Linked DNA regions of Homo sapiens: all the other regions are linked to region 4. The links are contacts of gene promoters, found by promoter capture Hi-C in blood cells and fetal thymus (Javierre and others, 2016). All regions are on one chromosome and are shown on one strand. Each heading gives the region's core, a stretch centred on a gene start or on the middle of the fragment in contact. The rest is flanking DNA. Distances are from core to core; before and after follow the strand shown.

Region 1 (3,013 bases), core at 378-2,877, 360 kb after region 4:
CACAAGGCACTCACGTGCAGCCTCTGCAAGCTGGCCAGAACCATTCCACGGCTGCTAGTCTCTGATCAGGAGAAAGTTACTGAAATCAGTTTCTTGTCCAGTCAAAGCTGTATGGCTTGTGGAACAGGGGTCAGTCAGTATCTGTTGGTGGATGAGCTGCAGTTGTTTTCTTTTTGTATTTTTTTGTAAGTTTTTATTTTTAATTTTTGTGGGTACATAGTAGGCTTACGCAATTGCTTTAATCTTGCTTATCTTGAGGCCAGTGCTTGTTTGGCTGCTGGAGAAAAAGAGCAACCTTATGGTGGTTAGAACATAGTGTATGGTTAGGACAAATGTAGGGGTGTGGGATTTAACCCTTGTCTGGCATGGCCTTAGGTCTTATTTATAATTTGGTGTTTTATTGCCACAAAGAGTCTATTTCTATCAGTCTTGATGATCTCTATGTTAACATGAATGCTGGTCAGCTGTGTCTGAACCGCAGAAGGGAGGGAGTAAATGAGTTGTGTCTGACCTCCCATTCTGTCATGGCCAGGAACTCAGTTAAGATTTCTCTGGGGCACTCTTGGCCAAAAGGGGGTCTTCTCGGTTGGGGGCTTAGGATTTTATTTATAGTTCTCATTGGTCTATATTATTACTGTTTCTTTGGACAGCGTGCAGTTGGGTAGGGGCAATTTGTTTTCTAAATCCTAAATGCCATCTGAGCAAGGTAAAATAACCAGACATGTTCAAACCTGGTCCACGATCTCATTATTTGTGGGATTAGTAGATGTGGGACCGTCTGCCTTCAAGTGACCAAAGGTGGAGAAAAGTCTAAGAGAACTTTCCAGTCGATTTTGAAGCTTTTATTTGGGGGAGTATCTGAGGGTGTAAAATATCAAAAAACAGGAAAAACGAGTTAGACCACTTACTGTTGAGAACCTGTAGTACAAGGGCATAGGGCTGAGGAGGGTGGAATGGGCAGGTTGTAAACCTGGAGATGATCCTTAAGATTAAGATGCTCCTCCCTCTGATGCCTGAGGTATATCTCCACTTTAATCACCAAGCTGGGAAAATCCTACTCTTTCCTTTTTGAGAGAGGTGTTCCTAAACGCTGACCTAAACAAAGGCATGAAACATACTCATAATAATTTTGCATCAATAGCTGCTCTTACAAAGTTAAACTAATAGGCAAATAAAGCTTTTCAAAATGGGGAGGAGTTTAAGACAATGAGAATGGTCTCCTTTGTTACAAAGACCAGTCAAAATACCCATCCAAGATGGGTACTTCAAGCCATGTTTGAATTCTTGAGGTGGCAGTTTTTTATGCCAGAAAGAGCTGAGCTTTGGAGCTAGATGGACCAGGGTTCAAATCTCCCCTCTGCTACTTTACCTTCTCTGTGACTTTGAGCAAGTTAATTTAACTGTAGAAACTCAATTTCCTCATCTGAAAATAGAGATAATTGTATCTCCTTGGGTGGCGGTGAGAATAAACGAAGTCGGGTTTGCCTGGCACATGCTGAATACTCAACAGGTGAACTTCCCTTTCCTTCTTAGAGGTAGATGGCTTTTGCACATTGCTAGACCACATGGGTGCAGGTCTAGCCTGACTCTCTCCCATGTGTGAACTAGGGATGAAATTAGGGCGAGGAGAAAAATGAGGATTAGCTATAATTGCATATAATTTGCATATATTTTGCTTTTACTAACTCCAAATGAAATATGAAATTGATCTAAGTGGGGATAAGTGTTTTCCCCGATCTTTGTTTTGGAGGAGAGAAGATTTTCTTTCAAAGTGACCTAGAACATTCCTTCTTGACCTTTTTATTCCTTCTCTGACTTCAGGGAGTCAGGGTGGGGAAGGTGGGACCAACATGATGGTGTAGACCCATCTTACTCTCAGGTGAGGAAGAATCACGGTAGGTATTTGGAGAAGAGCACCTGAGCTGCTCTAAAGGAGAGCTGCCCTGTTTGTTTTCCTGTTGGCATCCCACAGGGGTTTAGGATGTTTTCATTAACTCTCCAAGGAGTGTTAGATGTTGTTTGTCACAAAGAATTTTTTCACAAGTGACATAATCAGAACACTTCTAATGAGTACAATTAAGCTTTGAATAAAAATTTATCCTCATAATTACCTCTTGTGAAGATCTTTTAAAATAATATTTCATTTTGCTATTTCGGAAATAAATTCTTTCTTGATTGGAATAAGAATCTTAATAAAATTTCCCTGCATATTCCCTAAATTAATAATTCATACTCCTTAAGCATGTTCAGTGTGAGTGCTTGTCCTTTTTGAATGTAATTTCAAGAGTAAGTCTGAGTTACTTTGTTGTTTTTTTCTTTTTTTTGAGATGGAATCTGTCACCCAGGCTGGAGTACAGTGGTGCAATCTCGGCACACTGCAACCTCCATCTCCCGGGTTCAAGTGATTCTTCTGCCTCAGCCACCAAGTAGCTGGGATTACGGGCGTGCGTCACCATGCCTGGCTAATTTTTGTATTTTTAGTAGAGATGGGGTTTCACCTTGTTTGCCAGGCTGGTCTCGAACTCCCGACTTCAGGTGATCCCTCCTGCCTCAGCCTCCCAAAGTGCTGGGATTACAGGCATGAGCTACCGCACCTGGCCTAGAGAAATCTTTGATTTGTGTTTTCATCCTGCTTTCTTCTGTCCTTAATTTCTTAGAGATATCCTCAAGTTACTTAAGGGAAAATTGTTACAAAGACACTTTGCTGTTTAGAATTATGCCTAGCTGGTTTTCTCAAGTACTCATTCTTTAAAAGTGAGATGTAGTGGTGTGACCCTGTAGTCCCAGCTACTCGGGAGGCTAGGGTAGGAGGATTGCATGAGTCCAGGAGTTCAAGTCCAGCTTGGGCAACATAGCAAGGCCTCATCTCTTAAGAAAAAAAAATCTTACTGTGAAAATTAAAATATTTTTCTTTTCCTTTTTAAGAGAACTTTAACTACATCATTGAGTTTTATGAGCTGACTGGGGCATTCTGTCAGTAATAACAGTGAAATTCAGAAGTCATTTCTCTCAT
Region 2 (3,091 bases), core at 311-2,810, 300 kb after region 4:
GCGATTCACCCGCCTCAGCCTCCCAAGTAGCTGGGATTACAGGTGCCCGCCATCACGCCCAGCTAATTTTTGTATTTGTAGTAGAAATGGGGTTTCACCATTTTGGCCAGGCTGGTCTTGAACTCCTGACCTCAGGTGATCCGCCCACCTCGGCCTCCCAAAGTGCTGGGATTACAGGCGTGAGCCACTGTGGCCGGCCACCTCTTTTCTTTGCGAATTACCCAGTCTTTTTCCAGCGGTGACGACCTACCCAGGAGAACATGCCTCTCACAAAGGATCTCCTTCATCCCTCTCCAGAATAGGGGAAGAGGAAACACAAGAAGCAGTGCCTGATGCAGAGCCCCAATTCCTACTTCATGGGTGTAAATGCCCAGGATGGTACAAAATCATCACAGTCTTTAGCCATGCACTAACAGAAATTTTGTGTGTTGGCTGCTCCACTGTCCTCTGCCAGCCTACAGAAAGAAAAGCAAGGCTTACAGAAGGATGTTCCTTCAGGAGGAAGCAGCATTAAAAAGCACTCCGAATCAAGATGAGTGGGAAATCATCTCAATAAACACTTTTTTTTTTTTGAGACTGAGTTTCACTCTTGTCGCCCAGGCTGCAGTGCAGTGGTGTGAGCTTGGCTCACTGCGACCTCCGCCTACCAGGTTCAAGCAATTCTCCTGCCTCAGCCTCCTGAGTATCTGGGATTACAGGCATGCGCCACTATGCCCGGCTTATTTTGGGGTTTCATCATGTTGGCCAGGCTGATCTTGAACTCCTGACCTCAGGTGATCTGCTCACCTCGACATTCTAAAGTGCTGAGGTTACAGGCATGAGCCACTGTGCCTGGCCTCAATAAACACATTTTGGATAAAAAATAAATAAATTACCCAGTCTCTGATATTTCTTTATAGCAATGCAAATGGACTAACACAGAGACATTATTGTGAGTGGTAAAGGCAGATTAAATGTCTTGCTTAGAATTACACAGCTGCTACTTGACTTCAAATTATACTATGAGACTACAGTAACCAAAACAGCATGGTACTGGTACCAAAACAGATACATAGACCAATGGAACAGAACAGAGGTCTCAGAAATAACACCACACATCTACAACCATCTGATCTTTGACAAACCTGACAAAAACAAGCAATGAGAAAAGGATTCCCTATTTAATAAATGGTGCTGGGAAAACTGGCTAGCCATATGGAGAAAACTGAAACTATACCCCTTCCTTATAGCTTATACAAAAACTAAGTCAAGATGGATTAAAGACTGAAACATAAGACCTAAAACCGTAAAAACCCTAGAAGAAAACCTAGGCAATACCATTCAGGACATAGGCATGGGCAAAGAGTTCATGACTAAAACACCAAAAACAATTGCAACAAAAGCCAAAATTGAGAAATGGGATCTAATCAAACTAAAGCGCTTCTGCACAGCAAAAGAAACTATCATCAGAGTGAACAGGCAATCTACAGAATGGGAGAAAATGTTTGCAATCTATCCATCTGACAAGGTCTAATATCCAGAATCTACAAGGAACTTAAACAAATTTACAAGAAAAAAACAAAGAACCCCATCAAAAAGTGGGCAAAGGATATGCACAGACACCTCTCAAAAGAAGACATTTATGCAGTCAACAAACATATGAAAAAAAGCTCATCATCACTGGTCATTAGAGAAATGCAAATCAAAACCACAATAAGATACCATCTCATGGCACATGTATACCCGTTAGAATGGTAATCATTAAAAAGTCAGGAAACAACAGATGCTGGAGAGGATGTGGAGAGAAATAGGAATGCTTTCACCCTGTTGGTATGAGTGTAAACTAGTTCAACCATTGTGGAAGATAGTGTGGCGATTCCTTAAGGATCTAGAACCAGAAATACCATTTGACCCAGCAATCCTGTTACTGGGTATACACCCAAAGGATTATAAATCATTCTATAAAGACACATGCACATGCATGTTTATTGCAGCACTATTCACTATAGCAAAGACTTAGAACCAACCCGAATTCCCATCAATGATAGACTGGATAAAGAAAATGTGGCACATATACACCATGGAATACTATGCAGCCATAAAAAAGAATGATTCACGTTGTTTGCAGGGACATGGATGAAGCTGGAAACCAACGTTCTCAGCAAACTAACACGGGAACAGAAAACCAAACACTGCATATTCTCGCTCATAAGTGGGAGTTGAACAATGAGAATACATGGACACAGGGAGGGGAACGTCACATACCAGGGCCTGTAGGGGGGTGGGGGAGAAGGGGAGGGAGAACATTAGGACAAATACCTAATGCATGCGGGTCTTAAAACCTAGATGACGGGTTGATGGGTGCAGCAAACCACCATGGCACATGTATACCTATGTAACAAACCTGCATGCTCTGCACATGTATCCCAGAACTTAAAGTATAATTTAAAAAAACTACGCAGCTGATTTCTGACAGAGCTGAGTTCATAACTGGATTTCCTTTGGATGTTTCCCTCTTTTCTTCTCTTGTGTTGCCAGAACTGATATCAAAGGGAAGGAATACAAGAGAAATATTCAATTTCACTACTTCTTTGATAGTTTGATATGTTGTCCCTAGAAGGCCATGATAATGATATGTTGTCTCTAACTTTCAGGCTAATTATAGGTACAGATAATGGGTGGTTATTTGGACTATTTTAAAAAATAGAGACAGGTTCTCACTATGTTGCCCAGGCTGGTCTCGAACTCCATGGCTCAAGTGATCCTCCCGCCTTGGCTTCCCAAAGTGCTGGGATTACAGGTGTGAGCCACCACACCCAAACTTTTTTTTTTTAATAGGTTCTCACTTTGTCACCCAGGCTGGGGTGCTGTGGTGTGATCATGGCTCACTGCAGCCTCAACCTCTTGAGCTCAAGCAATCTTCCCACCTCAGCCTACCAAGTAGTTGGGACTACAGGTGCTTGCCACCACACCCGGCTAATTTTAAAACTTTTTTCGTGGAGATAAGGTCTTGTGCTGCCCAGCTTGATCCTGGATTCCTGGGTTCCAGTGATCCTCCCACCTCGGCCTCCCCCAGTGTGGAGATTACAGGCATGAGCCATTGTACCCAGTC
Region 3 (3,104 bases), core at 526-3,025, 340 kb after region 4:
GCTGGGATTACAGACATGAGCCACCGTGCCCAGCCGGACTAGATACATTTCAAGTGTATGATAGACCCAAGTGGCTAGTGGCTGCCACATTGGACAGTATAGCTATGGAGTATTCCATTGTATGGATATATTACAGTTACCCATTCCACTGTAGGTAATTGGTACAATCACTTTGGAAAACAGTTTGATACTGTCTAGTGAAGTTGAAGATATAAAAATATGTGATCCAGAAATTCTCCTGGTTATATACCCTAGAAAAATAAGTACTGTTCCGTACCAGAATACACATTCAAGGATGTTTATAGTTAAACTGTTTACAATACCCCCAAACAGAGATAACCCAAATGTCTGAGCAGAATGGGTTGTGGCTAGAGGCCAATAATCTTATGTTTTAACAAGCCCTCCAGGTGATTCCTGTGCACAGATAAGCTTTAGTTTCATTTACCCAATGGTTTAAATTATTCCAAATAAGTTGTGTTCTTTCTGCTTACTACCAAAAAATGCTAACTTGAAATTATTTTCATGTTCATTTCAGCAAACCGAATCATTATGCACCAAGCAATGACATATATGGTGGAGAGATGCATGTTCGACCAATGCTCTCTCAGCCAGCCTACTCTTTTTACCCAGAAGATGAAATTCTTCACTTCTACAAATGGACCTCTCCTCCAGGAGTGATTCGGATCCTGTCTATGCTCATTATTGTGATGTGCATTGCCATCTTTGCCTGTGTGGCCTCCACGCTTGCCTGGGACAGAGGCTATGGAACTTCCCTTTTAGGAGGTAGTGTAGGCTACCCTTATGGAGGAAGTGGCTTTGGTAGCTACGGAAGTGGCTATGGCTATGGCTATGGTTATGGCTATGGCTACGGAGGCTATACAGACCCAAGAGCAGCAAAGGGCTTCATGTTGGCCATGGCTGCCTTTTGTTTCATTGCCGCGTTGGTGATCTTTGTTACCAGTGTTATAAGATCTGAAATGTCCAGAACAAGAAGATACTACTTAAGTGTGATAATAGTGAGTGCTATCCTGGGCATCATGGTGTTTATTGCCACAATTGTCTATATAATGGGAGTGAACCCAACTGCTCAGTCTTCTGGATCTCTATATGGTTCACAAATATATGCCCTCTGCAACCAATTTTATACACCTGCAGCTACTGGACTCTACGTGGATCAGTATTTGTATCACTACTGTGTTGTGGATCCCCAGGAGGTATGAGTGGTGTTTTGGGTTTTTTCTCCATCTCCTTAGCAGAGGCCTTCAACTTGAGATATGTGATAGAATCACTCTGGAAACTCTTAAAAAATATTGATGACAAGGCTCCACTTCTAATTAAATCTGGGGGAGGGGCTGAGTCTCATTAAGATATGATTAACATACCATGTAATTTGATTACTTAAATAACAGTTCAGTGGTTTTTAATATATTCACAGAATTGTGCCACCATCACCACAATCAATTTTAGAACATTTTCACTATCCTAAAAAGAAACTTGTACCCGTTAGCGGTCACTCCTCATTTCCCTAACCATTCTTAGCCCTAGGCAACCACTAATCCTACATCTATAAATTTGTCTATTCTCTAGGTATTTCATATAAATGGAATCACACAATGTGGTCTTTGTGATGGGCTTCTTTTACGTAGCATAATGTTTTTAAGGTTTACCCATGTCATAGCTTGTGCCATTCTCTCATTCCTTTTTATTGCTAATATTCCAGTGTGTGGATAAACCACATTTTATTTATCAGTTGATAGACATTTGTGTCTACATTGGCTATTAAGAATCATGCTAGACTGGGCACGGTGGCTCATGCTTGTAATCCCAGCACTTTGGGAGGCTGAGGCGGGCGGATCATGAGGTCAGGAGATTGTGACCATCCTCGCTAATAAGGTGAAACCCCGTCTCTACTAAAAATACAAAAAAAATTAGCTGGGCATGGTGGCAGGCACCTGTAGTCCCAGCTACTCGGGAGGCTCAGGCAGAAGAAATGGCGTGAACCCGGGAGGCGGAGCTTGCAGTGAGCTGAGATTGCGCCACTGCACTCCAGCCTGAGCGACAGAGCAAGACTCCATCTCAAAAAAAAAGAATCATGCTATAGACATTCTTGTATACGTTTTTGTGTGAACCTATGTTTTAATGATTTCTTGAGTTGGGTTATACCTAGGGGTGGAATTGCTGGGTCATATGGTGACTCTTTAATCTTTTGGGGAGCTACCAGAGTTTTTCCAAAGAGTTTGCATCATTTTACATTCACATCAGAAATGTATGAAAGTTCCAATTTCTCCACATCCTCACCAACACTTGTTATTGTCTGATTCTAGCCATGCTGATGGGTGAGAAGTGAAGTGGTGCTTTATTGTGATTTTGATTCGTATTTTCTTTATAGCTAATGTTATTAGCTATATAGTCATGTACTTATTGGCCATTTCTCTCTTATCTTTGGAGAAATGGCTGTTTAGACTTGTCCATTTTTTTTTTCTTTTTGAGACGGAGTCTTGCTCTATCGCCCAGGCTGGAGTGCAGTGGTGTGATCTTTGCTCACTGTGAGCTACGCCTCCTGGGTTCACACCATTCTCCTGCCTCAGCCTCCTGAATAGCTGGGACTACAGGCACCGGCCACCACGCCCAGCTAATTTTTTTTTTTTTTTGTATTTTTAGTAGAGATGGGGTTTCACCGTGTTAGCCACGATGGTCTCTATCTTCTGACCTCGTGATCCGCCCGCCTCGGCCTCCAAAGTGCTGGGATTACAGGTGTGAGCCACTGTGCCCGGCCTAGACTTGCCCATGTTTTAATTGGGCTATTTTTGTTGTTGTTTTGTTTTTGAGACAGAGTCTCACTGTCACCCAGGCTGGGGTGCAGTGGTGCAGTCACAGCTCACTGCATCCTTGACCTCCTGGGCTCAAGTGACCCTCCTACCTCAGTCTCCTGAGTAGCTAGGACCACAGGGGCATGCCACCACACCCGGATAATTTTTTAAAAAATTTTTTGTAGAGACAGGGTCTCACTTTGTTGCCCGGTCTGGGCTGGAACTCCTGGGCTCAAGTGATCCTGCCTTGGCCTTCCAAACCGCTGGGATTATAGGCATCTTTTCACTTTCTTG
Region 4 (2,833 bases), core at 22-2,521:
GACTGAGTGAGAATGGATGTTGAACACAGAACTGAAGGATGAATGGGAGTTACCTGAATAGAACCCAGGGGCTTGAATGCAAGAAGAGGCGGGCATTCCAGGCAGAGGAGAGCAAGGGTAAGGGCCCCACGGGAGGCATTCGAGTAGGAGGGTGAACTATGATGACAGAAGACTCAATAACGATCCAAAGAAACCAAATGATTGGGCGCCTTCTTTCGGATCCGTGACTTCCAGCGCCAGGAGTCTCTATTGGCTCTTATACCGTTGCTCTATGGGATAGCAATGTTTTTGTCCTTCAGCCTCCCCTCCAATTGCTGAGCTGCTGGTGTGTTTTGAGGAGTAGAAGGCAAAAAGAACCCTCTTGTTTTTCTTTGGATCTAGAGAGAATCTGAGCAAATGACAAAGCAAATGGGGTAAAATGTCTTTTTGTTTAGTTTTTCCTGATTTTCCCATGAGAGGCAAATACATGTTAAGGATAGTTGAATCTGAGTAAAGGGCATAGAAATATTCCTTACAAGATTTTTGTTGGCAACTGGTCTAAGTATGAAATTATTTCCAAATAGAAAGCTAAAACAAACAAAACAATTGGCCTTGGGAAACTGGACAATCTTGAAGTAATCAAGTAATATTGTTAAGGGACAATCAGTGTTGTGAAAACAACACGGATACACCCCCTCCCTCCCCCTCAAAAAAAAAAACCCTAAATTCAGTTCCCCCGTTGCTAATGTGTGACCCTGGCAAAGTCATCTAAGTCGCTGAGCTTCAGTTCCTCCAACCCAGAGAGTTGTTGCAACGATCAAATGAAAGAATGTCTATTAAAGCCTTTCATGAACTATATTATTGCTGCTACCGTAGAAATGGAAAGTGTGCAACACTAGATCCAAAACTACTTTTGACACTTCTGAGACTGTGGCCGCGCCTCTGTCACCTTCCAAAGGCCACTAGGCCTTTCCTGAGCTGGCATTGGCAACGCACACTCTTGCCCGGCTAACCTTTCCAGGTGGGCGGCGCACTGGCTTCACTGCTCTCCAGGTGGCCGCTGCAGCTGCCCGAGAGCGCAGGCGCAGAGGCAGACCACGTGAGAGCCTGGCCAGGCCTTCCGGCCTAGCCTCACTGTGGCCCCGCCCCTCTCGAACGCCTTCGCGCGATCGCCCTGGAAACGCATTCTCTGCGACCGGCAGCCGCCAATGGGAAGGGAGTGAGTGCCACGAACAGGCCAATAAGGAGGGAGCAGTGCGGGGTTTAAATCTGAGGCTAGGCTGGCTCTTCTCGGCGTGCTGCGGCGGAACGGCTGTTGGTTTCTGCTGGGTGTAGGTCCTTGGCTGGTCGGGCCTCCGGTGTTCTGCTTCTCCCCGCTGAGCTGCTGCCTGGTGAAGAGGAAGCCATGGCGCTCCGAGTCACCAGGGTGAGCCGCTTCGGACTGCGAACTAACGCGGCCTTCTTAGCTGCTGCCTGCTCTCCCTGCCTCGCCTGCGGGAGCCTCCCGAGCGGGAGAGGGCCGCAGGAGCGATTTGGGGAGGAAGGTGGGAGGGGACTCACCAAGAGAGCGCCGAGGTGGGCCCAGGCCTGGTGAGAGAGTGTGGGGGACGATGGATGGAGGGAGGAAGGTGAGAAAGAGAACTGGACGGATATTGGATAAATGTTTTGGGGAGGTGGAGAGTCGACTGGGAACCTTTTGAAAAAGTGATAGAGGGTCCCTGAGTGGGCCCGCCAGCAACTCTGTAACCCCCTTCCCAGAGAGAAGGTGTCTGCAATTGGAGGCTTTTTCGGTTTCCTTTCAAATGTAAATTCTCGGTATTTTAGGGCTGGCCAGGACTAATCAGGGAATCCCTCAATTGGTAAATGTAGAGGTCGGCGGAAACTGACTTGTCACGGCCGCAGAGTAGACTCTGGGACCCATGTTTTCCCTCGGAACCCATTTTTAGTCGGCTTTCTTTCTGGGAACTTCTCCTTGTGCCCCACCTTAATTAACCCTTGACTTACTCGAGCCTTCGTGGATCAGCTCTTAAAGTGGTCTTGCTTCTTTCAGAACTCGAAAATTAATGCTGAAAATAAGGCGAAGATCAACATGGCAGGCGCAAAGCGCGTTCCTACGGCCCCTGCTGCAACCTCCAAGCCCGGACTGAGGCCAAGAACAGCTCTTGGGGACATTGGTAACAAAGTCAGTGAACAACTGCAGGCCAAAATGCCTATGAAGAAGGTAACTCTCTTCCTGACCTAACTTCTGTAAGAGCCCGCCTTCCAACTGTGGCCTTTGATGCAGAAACATTTCATTCTCTCTGTTTCATCTACAGGAAGCAAAACCTTCAGCTACTGGAAAAGTCATTGATAAAAAACTACCAAAACCTCTTGAAAAGGTACCTATGCTGGTGCCAGTGCCAGTGTCTGAGCCAGTGCCAGAGCCAGAACCTGAGCCAGAACCTGAGCCTGTTAAAGAAGAAAAACTTTCGCCTGAGCCTATTTTGGTAAACTTATTCTTACCATTGTAGAGTCTGTTGATTATTTCTTGTCCCTTATTTCACTGATACATGCAAGAGCATTCAAATGAATAGTAATATTAATACCATTTATTGAGTGCTTAGCATGAGGCAAGCTCTGCCTAACATTTTACATGCATTAACTCACATAATCTTTACACGTACTCTCTGAGGTATTGTCACCTCTACTATTTAAATCATGGCTTTAGAGAGGTTATGTCAGGGTCACACAGGTAAGTGGCCCATATGGGATTCAAGCTCAGGCTGTCTGGCTTCAGAATCTATGCTTTTAATTGTCAACTGTCTTATATTCCTTCGTTAATGATATTAAGTAGTAGCTGTCTGAGCCAAAGGCT

The links. The method cuts DNA at HindIII sites, captures the fragments that hold promoters and counts their contacts. A CHiCAGO score of 5 or more calls a contact.
Region 1: a fragment that was not itself captured here is called in contact with the fragment with the promoter of CCNB1 in region 4 in 1 of 17 cell types (M1 macrophages); the score reaches 5.2 in M1 macrophages.
Region 2: a fragment that was not itself captured here is called in contact with the fragment with the promoter of CCNB1 in region 4 in 1 of 17 cell types (erythroblasts); the score reaches 5.1 in erythroblasts.
Region 3: a fragment that was not itself captured here is called in contact with the fragment with the promoter of CCNB1 in region 4 in 3 of 17 cell types (neutrophils, M2 macrophages and endothelial precursors); the score reaches 17.2 in neutrophils.

The regions. Positions count from the first base shown.
Region 1 is chr5:69,527,304-69,530,316 of GRCh38, forward strand. The region is part of intron 4 of OCLN (occludin); the gene reads left to right. Among named protein-coding and RNA genes, the nearest start is that of SNORD13B-1, 10 kb to the right of the region's middle. The HindIII fragment of the contact is 904 bases long and covers 1,176-2,079 here.
Region 2 is chr5:69,469,623-69,472,713 of GRCh38, forward strand. It overlaps the pseudogene RPS27P14. Among named protein-coding and RNA genes, the nearest start is that of OCLN, 22 kb to the right of the region's middle. The HindIII fragment of the contact is 4,373 bases long and covers 1-3,091 here.
Region 3 is chr5:69,508,606-69,511,709 of GRCh38, forward strand. It overlaps OCLN (occludin), which reads left to right. Exons shown (of 9, transcript NM_001205254.2): 3 at 536-1,214. Among named protein-coding and RNA genes, the nearest start is that of OCLN, 17 kb to the left of the region's middle. The HindIII fragment of the contact is 2,696 bases long and covers 428-3,104 here.
Region 4 is chr5:69,165,879-69,168,711 of GRCh38, forward strand. It overlaps CCNB1 (cyclin B1), which reads left to right and starts at 1,272. Exons shown (of 9, transcript NM_031966.4): 1 at 1,272-1,405; 2 at 2,030-2,200; 3 at 2,295-2,465. The coding sequence starts at 1,385. RefSeq lists enhancers at 952-1,917, 1,298-1,527. The HindIII fragment of the contact is 10,262 bases long and covers 1-2,833 here.